2 separate regions of the Homo sapiens genome follow, and region 2 is linked to region 1. Evidence: promoter capture Hi-C in 16 types of primary human blood cells and fetal thymus (Javierre and others, 2016). All regions are on one chromosome and are shown on one strand. Each heading gives the region's core, a stretch centred on a gene start or on the middle of the fragment in contact. The rest is flanking DNA. Distances are from core to core; before and after follow the strand shown.

The links. Contacts are between HindIII fragments. The CHiCAGO score rates a contact against its expected background, and 5 or more counts as called.
Region 2: a fragment that was not itself captured here is called in contact with the fragment with the promoter of DNAJB5 in region 1 in 1 of 17 cell types (erythroblasts); the score reaches 5.0 in erythroblasts.

What each region holds. Positions count from the first base shown.
Region 1 is chr9:34,987,945-34,991,968 of GRCh38, reverse strand. DNAJB5 (DnaJ heat shock protein family (Hsp40) member B5) reads right to left here and starts at 2,224. Exons shown (of 5, transcript NM_001349723.3): 1 at 2,138-2,224; 2 at 1,157-1,470. The coding sequence starts at 1,338. It overlaps DNAJB5-DT (DNAJB5 divergent transcript), which reads left to right and starts at 2,590. Exons shown (of 2, transcript NR_109756.1): 1 at 2,590-2,810. RefSeq lists enhancers at 180-1,109, 1,110-2,039, 2,594-2,803 and silencers at 2,321-2,469, 1,984-2,483. The HindIII fragment of the contact is 19,763 bases long and covers 1-4,024 here.
Region 2 is chr9:35,550,454-35,554,552 of GRCh38, reverse strand. All of the region lies in intron 2 of RUSC2 (RUN and SH3 domain containing 2), which reads right to left. Among named protein-coding and RNA genes, the nearest start is that of CIMIP2B, 11 kb to the left of the region's middle. The HindIII fragment of the contact is 1,575 bases long and covers 1,272-2,846 here.

The sequences.
Region 1 (4,024 bases), core at 975-3,474:
CAGGGAGGTGTACAGGGTGTCCTTCCAGGAGTGAGGCCTGTAACCGGGTAAGGGGGAGGCGCCCAAGGCCCTAGGTGGGCAGGGACAATGGCCCTCACTGCTGCCCCCACAGGCCCTGCTGCAGGTGGCTGGGTTGACTCATGGTTCTGGGAGTCACCTTTCTCTGACGAAGAAAAGGCTCCACAAAGGCGGGTACTCCCCCATTGCCCCCCACCAGCATGTCACGTCTGTGGGGGAGATGGGGTGGGGGGTGGGGTTGGGAGAGGCAGAGAAGAAAGAGCACCTCGTTGGGGGGGGGGGCAACCGTTTTCGGAAATGGCAGCAAAAGCCGTCTGAGAGGGAGCGGGGGGGGGTGGTCTGCCATTTCTGCCTCAACCCACACCTTCTTTCCCCTGGGACTGGGAAAGAACCCTAGCACACCAAGAGGGTGCCCCTAGAGAACGAGAGCAGCTTCCAGGCAGAGGGCCAGTGGAACGGCTCACCAACCACCCACCTCCTTTTGGTGTCCCTGCATTACCTCCACACCCGGCCAGCTTCCTCCCTGGTACCCACCTGCTAGCTGCTCTAGGCCCATACATCTCTTGCCTCCGCAGACACAGGGCAAGCTCTTTCAGGATCTGCCTCCTTTTTCTCTTTCTGCTTTCCTCCCTCCTTCCCTTCCCCCCTACCCACAGGCCACGTGTTGGAATGACAAAGGAGCCCCATGGCATGGCACTGCCTTTGATGGAGAAGAATGAGGAGGATGTTAAGGTAGAGGCAGGAAGGAAAAATGGGGAGAAAATGGCGAGGGGGACTGTTGAGGTACAGGGAGGGGAGATGGCTGATACAGAAAATGAGGTACTGATGGAGGGGGATGAGTGACAGATGGAAATGGCTGAGGTGGAAAATGGGTTAATGATGGGTTGAAAGGGAGGAATGTGGAGAGTTGAAATAATGGAGGAAATGTCTGTGGAAAATGGATACCTGAAGGGTTTGAGAAAAGGAATGATAAGGGGTGCAATTCATTCAAATATGTGGGTGAGGCCGGAGGGGGGTTCCTGTATGTCACAGAGGGGATGAGGATGAGTTGGAGGAAGCAGGAAGGCAATGGAGGGGATGGCCGCGTGGAGGGTTTGACTGGGTATGGGTGTGAGTGCCCTTCTCCGGAGGGACTTACCGAAACTTTACAAACCCATTCAGCGTCCACGCTCGAAGTTTTAAGGGCTCCAGCTGAATTTTAAACATCAAGCTGGCTAAGAAGTCTTCTCCCCAGGAGTGTGGGAAGCTCCGGAAAGCTCCTCGGGCCTGCAGTGGGGGTGCTGCTGGGGGTGGGCAGGAGAGCACTGTGCGCTTAAACATGCCCAGCCAAGCCCCTCACCTCTGATCGCTCCACCGGAGCCGGCCTGAAGTGCTGCAGCTCTGGAAGCCACCTCCTTGGACTCTCAGAGGCGCGTGCCCAGCAAGGCCTGTCTGGCGCAGCAGGTGCCGGACCTGATCCCCAAATGTGGAGAGTGAAGGGAGAAGACCCGCGGCCACCTGCTCTCAGGTGCAGCAGTGTCTGGCTGGCTGTGAGCGGCTGTATGGCAGCGTGTCAGTGAGGCTGGGAGTGCAAGCGTGTGTTTGTGAGTGGCAGCGTGTATACCTGTGACAGGTGTGATTGTGAGGGCCCGAGAGGCAGTGAGCTCCTGTCGCCTCTCACTGGGGAGGACCCGACCCCAATCCCCAAGAACCTACTCAATGAAGTCACTGACGGGAGTCTCCTCCCTCGCAGATGGGCGGGGCAGAGCGGAGCTCGGCCGGGACAAAAGGCGCGGCGAGGAGAGGAGGGGAGGGGGCTCGGGCGGGGGAGGGTGGTCGGTGATGTCACCCGCGCTGGCTGGCTGGTCTGCTCACAGATGCCTCCGCCCCACAGAACCCAATCTGGTCCGGTCCGACTCGACCCTCCCCTCCCCTCCCCTCCCCGACTCAGACGCTGGCTGCCCCCTGTGACAGCCAAGCCCTGGTCTAGGACTCCGAGCACCCTGCAGACCCCGGGGCCCCGCATCCCCAAGGCAGCAGAGCCTACGGGCCCTCAGTGTCCCAACCCCCCAACACCAGGAGCCCTGGCTTCACGACGCCCCGCTCCCGGGACCCCCGAGTCCTGGCTTGGCGCCCTCACCGGTGAGGAGCTGCGGGCGCCGCCGTGGTCCGTGAGACAGCCGCTGCCCCCTCCCCCGGCTCCGGCTCCGCCGCCTCCACCCGGGACAGGAGTCGCCTGCCCGCCGGCCGCCGATAGCGGGACCGGGAGCCCGCCCCCACGGCTCCGCCTCCGCGCCGCCCATTGAACCGTCTTCCTGTCACTCAGCTCAGCCTCCACTGTGATTGGGCAGTTTTCAACAAGCGGCTTGGTGATAGCCGCCCATCCTCCGCCCCTGTCACCCGGCCACACGCGCACACATTCCAGGCAGTGATTGGTGTGGATCTGATTGGCGCCCTCTGGGATCACTCAACCACGCCTCTTTGCCATCTTGTCGTGCCATTGGTGAAAAAGACAGAGGGCGGCAACCTCGCTCGCCCTTTGATTTTATTGGTTCGTGCCTGAGACTCAGACCCGAGCCCGGGGGCAAACTATATTAGTCCAATCTCCGGGTTGAGAAGGTGGGACGTACTGGCCACTGCTCGAATCCCAGGAGAACCTTCTGGAACCCTTGCGACGTCAAAGGCAGCCTTAAAGGAAAACTGTACCCACCAGTTGGCCGTGCGGCCGTGCATTCTTTCCTTTCTTCATTGGGGGGCAAGAGGGAGAGAACAGTGCACTCTGGGAGGTGTAGTCCCTGGACCGGGGCCAAAAGGTCAGCACTTCTTACTCGCCTTTCAGCCAACGGTGTAACCACCTCAAGCTGACCTCATTTAGCTTTACCTTATCCTGACCCCGCGGTGGCCTGATGTGACCTAACGGAATCTCTAACAGACCCCACGGATGCCGGGTTTCAGAGCCCCCCGGACCTCTCCCCCGAGGGAAACGGATGGCTCTGCCCAGGCCGGTGCCTCCAGGAATCTCCCCCGCCCACCCTCTGTACAGCCCCTCATCCTCGCGCCCCTCTTCAGCGACCCCGCGGTCTCCATTTCAGTCCCTCTTCTAATCAGTCTCTCATCCTGCTTCCCCCTGGAGTGCCTGTGTTTTAGCCCTTTCCTTCTTGGCCCTAGATGATCTCCTGTCTTCCTTCCCGCAGTGATCCCTTTTGTCTTATTCTTGGTTCTTTCTTTACACCCCGATCTCCTATCCTAGCTCTCCCCTTTCATCTTTCATCTCACTCCCCAAGATCCCCTTCCTTAACACCCTCAGAATCTCTAGTCTCCCCCACCCCCCATTAAGTCATTAGATCTCAGCCCCAGTGTCCCCGATGCAGGGAGCAGGCGGGGCTGCGGAGGCGGTCGCCAGCGGAAGCCGCCACTCCAGCAGACACGGTGCCTGGCGCCCACGTCACTGTCTCCCAGGCCCATCTGTGCTCGAGGGAGCGGGGGTGGGGAGGGAGTAATTTGGGGGTGAAGTGGGGGAGGGGAGTGCTGGGGGGTTGATGATGATAGAAGGGTCAGGCCGGAAGCTCCCCTTTACTTCTTTCTTTCCTATTTTCCAGAGACAGAGTTTGGACACCCATGAGGTCTTGCTAGAAACTGCAGCTTGAGTACCTGGGCCAAGAGCAGAGCAAGGCGGGGGGGGGGTGCCAGGGTCCTGGAGTCATGTCTGTAGATTCTTCACTACCTACCTTCATGCCAGGAGTCACTATGGGGCTCCCAAGGGTAAAGGGGCATGAGGTGTGAAGGAAGAAAGAGACTTGGGGTGAAAGGAGGATGGAAAGGAAGTGGGGTTGGGGGCCAGGAGGGGAGCAGAGATGGGTGATGAATGTGGGGAAATGAGCATGAGGAATTTGAGGAAATGGGGTTGAGGGGGGGAGGTAGGGAGAGGGGGTGGTGAGAGGATGGTGAGATGGGGTGAGGGGGATGAGGAGGGGAGGGGCATGGGGCAGATGAGCCATAGGGTGGGAGTAAGGAGGGCAGAGGAAAG
Region 2 (4,099 bases), core at 810-3,309, 560 kb before region 1:
TTGGAGTCACAGTCACACACATTTTCAGTGATGAAAATGTTTCAGATGTTACTGACTTCAAGCTTTTGCTCATTATCCCATCTCCAATCATGCCAGCACATTTCATTCCTGAGCATATCGAACCATAGTAAGATATTTCTTTACTTGCAGCCTACCTGTTATCTGTATCTACCCCCACTCCCACTCTTTTCACGATCCTGGCATTGGAACCTCAGAGTCCACATTTGCTCCCCCTGAACGGAGGTATGTTCCCCAAGGCTGGGCCTCTCCTGTTCTTTCAGGCAGTCTTCAGGTCAATGTCCTTCAAAACGTGGTGCTCAGAACTAAACACAAAACTCCAGGACACTGGAGTGGGACAGTGGATGGACTGCACTTCCAACAAAACACTGTAGATCTCCGAATAAACGTAAGATGGCGCTATAAGCACGCACCCGGCCTAAAGCCCTGGTGAAAGCTCACCAGCAGTGGGGCTCAGTAGCTCTGCGAGGCGGGAATTAGTTCTCTTACTTGACATATTAGGAAATGTGAAATGTAGACAGATTAAAGCACTTGCTCAAGGTCAAACAACTAGGAAGTGGCAGAGCTAGAATTCTGCCTAACCCAGAGTCTGATTTCAGAGCCACTGTTCTTTTTACCACATTGTACTACATGTGAAATTGTATCAGGCCAGGTTTTCCTATCCCTCATCTTATTTACATCAAAGAGTCAGAGGGGATGGGGACCACAATCCCATTAGGGAGGTGCTTCTGAATCACTCCCAGGGGACACTTTCAAGCTCCACCCTCCTGCTATACCCAGTCACTGCTTACACAGACTCTGCATTCTCCCTGGCCCACTGTGCTCCAGCCACACTTCCCCGTCCTTAAACACACCAGATGCATGAACATCTCCGGGCCTTTTGCACCTGCTTTTCTTTCTGTCTGAATCTTCTCACCATTCAGGCATCAGCTCAAATATCACCCCCTCAATAAGACCTTCTCTGACTACGTCAGCCCCTCTGGCAAGTTGCTCTCTATCCCATTACCCTGTTTCATTTTCTTTTCAGCATTGTTGAACTTTCCAGCAATTAAAAGTTGTCCTTTTAATGTGTTTATTGTCCATTACTGCTCCTAAGAGCTCCAGAAAAGTGGGGATTTTATATTGTTCACTGCTGGATCCATAATGCCTGGAACAGAGGCTGGCACACAGTATGGAGTGAAAAACCATCTGTTAAATGAGGGAATCTCCACGGTCACTCTTGATTCAAGCCAGTCTCACTACAACCAGAAGCTTCTTACATACACCAACTAGCTTCTGAGATACAAATTTTATCTCCCAGAATAAAGTCTAATCTTCTCAGTGAGCTAGTTGCCCACACCTGCTACGAGCTAGGCTGCTCTCCCTTCAGACTTCCACACCTGCCCCCACTGACCCTACTCTTCCCAGTCCATCCCTGTCATGAAGCCCACTGCTTTTCCCATCAGGAATGTGTCCTTCCTTTCCGCCTATTTAAGTATCAGTTTTCAAGGCTGAGCTGACTCTGGCTATCGGATTAGGTCATCCCAACCACAGCATTATTATACCCCCTATACAAAGTATGTCTGAATTAGACTGCTTATTCCTACCCTTTTAAAACTCCTCTCTGCTAAGTTCCCAGGATACAGACTGAGGCAGAGGAATAAGATCAGGTAAGAAGGGGGCCCCTGTGGGGAATGGGTCTTAGTTCTACCCTCAGGGAATACACAGAATAAGTTTTCTCACTTTTCTATGTGACATTCATTAAGAAAACCAGAGACAGAGACCGTATTCACCCGAGTCAGTTTTTCTCTAGGTTAAATAGCCCCAGTCCCCCAGTTCCTCAGTTCCTTCTTAAGATGTGGTACCCAGAACTCAATGGAATACCACTGAGCACTCACTGGTTCGGAGGAGTGAGAGACTATCCACTCTTTCTTTCTGGAGTCTATGAATGAATCCAGTCATCTTAACTTTTTGGAAGCTCTACCAACTGCTGACTCAATCTGAGTTTGCAATCAAATATCCCAAATCAACTCAAGTGCAGGTTACATATCAAACTTCACATTGGTCTCTGCTTTATTAGTTTTGTTCTTTCAAGATTCAGTAAGATCCCTTTAAATCTTGATTCTGCTGCTCAGTATCTCAAAGAGCCGTCTCAGCTGCCTTTTTTATTTTTATTTTTTAATTTACTTTTTTCTGAGACAGAGTCTCACTTTGTCACCCATGCTGGAGTGCAGTGGCGTGATCTCAGCTTACTGCAACTTCCGCCTTCCAGGTTCAAGCGATTATTGTGCCTCAGCCTCCCGGGTAGATGGGACTACAGGCGTGCGCCACCATGCCTAGCTAATTTTTGTATTTTTAGTAGAGATGGGGTTTCTCCATGTTGGCCAGGCTGGTCTCGAACTCCTGGCCTCAAATGATTTCCCCACCTCAGCCTCCCAAAGTGCTGGGATTACAGGCATGAGCCACCACACCTGGCCTACTTTAATTTTTTTTAGAGACAGGATCTCACTTTTTGCCCAGGCTGGGATGCAGTGGTGCAATCATAGCTCACTGTGCCTCAAACTCCTGGGCTCAGGCGATCCTCCTGCCTCAGCCTCCCGAGTAGCTAGGACTACAGGCATGTGCCATCACTCCCAGCTGTTTTTAAATTTTTTTTTCTGTAGACACAGGGTCTCACTATATTGCCCAGGCTGGTCTCAAACCCCTGGCTTCAAGTGATCCTCCTGCCTCAGCCTCCCAAAGTGCTGGGATTATAGGTGTGAGCCACCATGCCCAGCCGACCTTCTCAGCTTCCTATACTGTCATTCCTAGATTGGATCAACCTGTCCCTTCTTTTGTCATTCAAAGCTTGATGAATTGTCATTCATTTTTGATTTAGAAAAAAGCTGTACAGAATCAAGAGAAGACTGGAGACTTATGGAACAGAGCAGCATGTTGATATGTCTTAATCTGATAGAGAAAACACATCTCTGACCAGGATATTTCTTGCCCTCAGAATGCCAGTCATAGTATCCCACGAGATGCACCCAGCAGACAGACACTGCAGTCTAAGGGAGTGGGTTCAAAGGACCCAGTCAATCCTTGCTGTTTCTGATCCTGCCCCTTCCCTAGAGATCTCCCTCCCATGCCCACCCCAAGGACAGCTCTTCAGTGTATGTTAGGAACATGAAGTCTTCTGATGGACTGTGATCTCCCTGACAGCACAGATATTATTTATGGTTTTAAAACATTTTCTTTTGTGAAGCCAACAGACCCAACCTAAGGCTACAGCACAGCTGTGAGCCTCTGCTATCCCTGCTTTACCTCCCTTTCCTTCTAAACCCTCTGAGATCTGGCTTCCACTCTCACTACTCCTGAATGTTGCCTTCAGGATTCTTCATTATCTTAGGTGATTTCTCTTTAGAACTCTTTTGGTTCAAACTTTTTTTAAACTTTCTCCTCCTTTGGTTCCTGTGACTTCACTCTCTCCTGGTTTTTCTTTTTTTTTGAGACGGACTCTCACTTTGTCACCCAGACTGGAGTGCAGTGGCATAATCTTGGCTCACTGCAACCTCTGCCTCCCAGGTTCAAGCGATTCTCCTGCCTCAGCCTCCCATGTAGCTGGAACTACAGGCACCCGCCACCACACCTAATTTTTGTATTTTTAGTAGAGATGGGGTTTCACCATGTTGGTCAGGCTGGTGAACTCCTGACCTCAGGTGACCCGCGCACCTCGGCCTCCCGAAGTGCTAGGATTACAGGCATGAGCCACCATGCCCGGCCTCTCCTGGTTTTTCTTCTATTGTCCTAATTCTTCTGTCTCTTTTGAGGGTGCTGCTCATCCCTTAAGTCACAGTATCCCCTTCTTCCCTTTATAACTCAACACATTCTCCCTGGATCCTCTCTCAGCCACACACATAGCTTCAGCTACCACTTTTGTTTTTTATTTTTGAGACAGAGTCTCACTCTGTTTCCCAAGCTGGAGTGCAGTGGCATGATCTAGGCTCACTGCAACCTCTGTCTCCTGGGTTCAAGCGATTCTCCTGCCTCGGCCTTCCATGTCGCTGGGATTACAGGCGTGCACCACCACACCCGGCTAATTTTTGTATTTTTAGTAGAGATG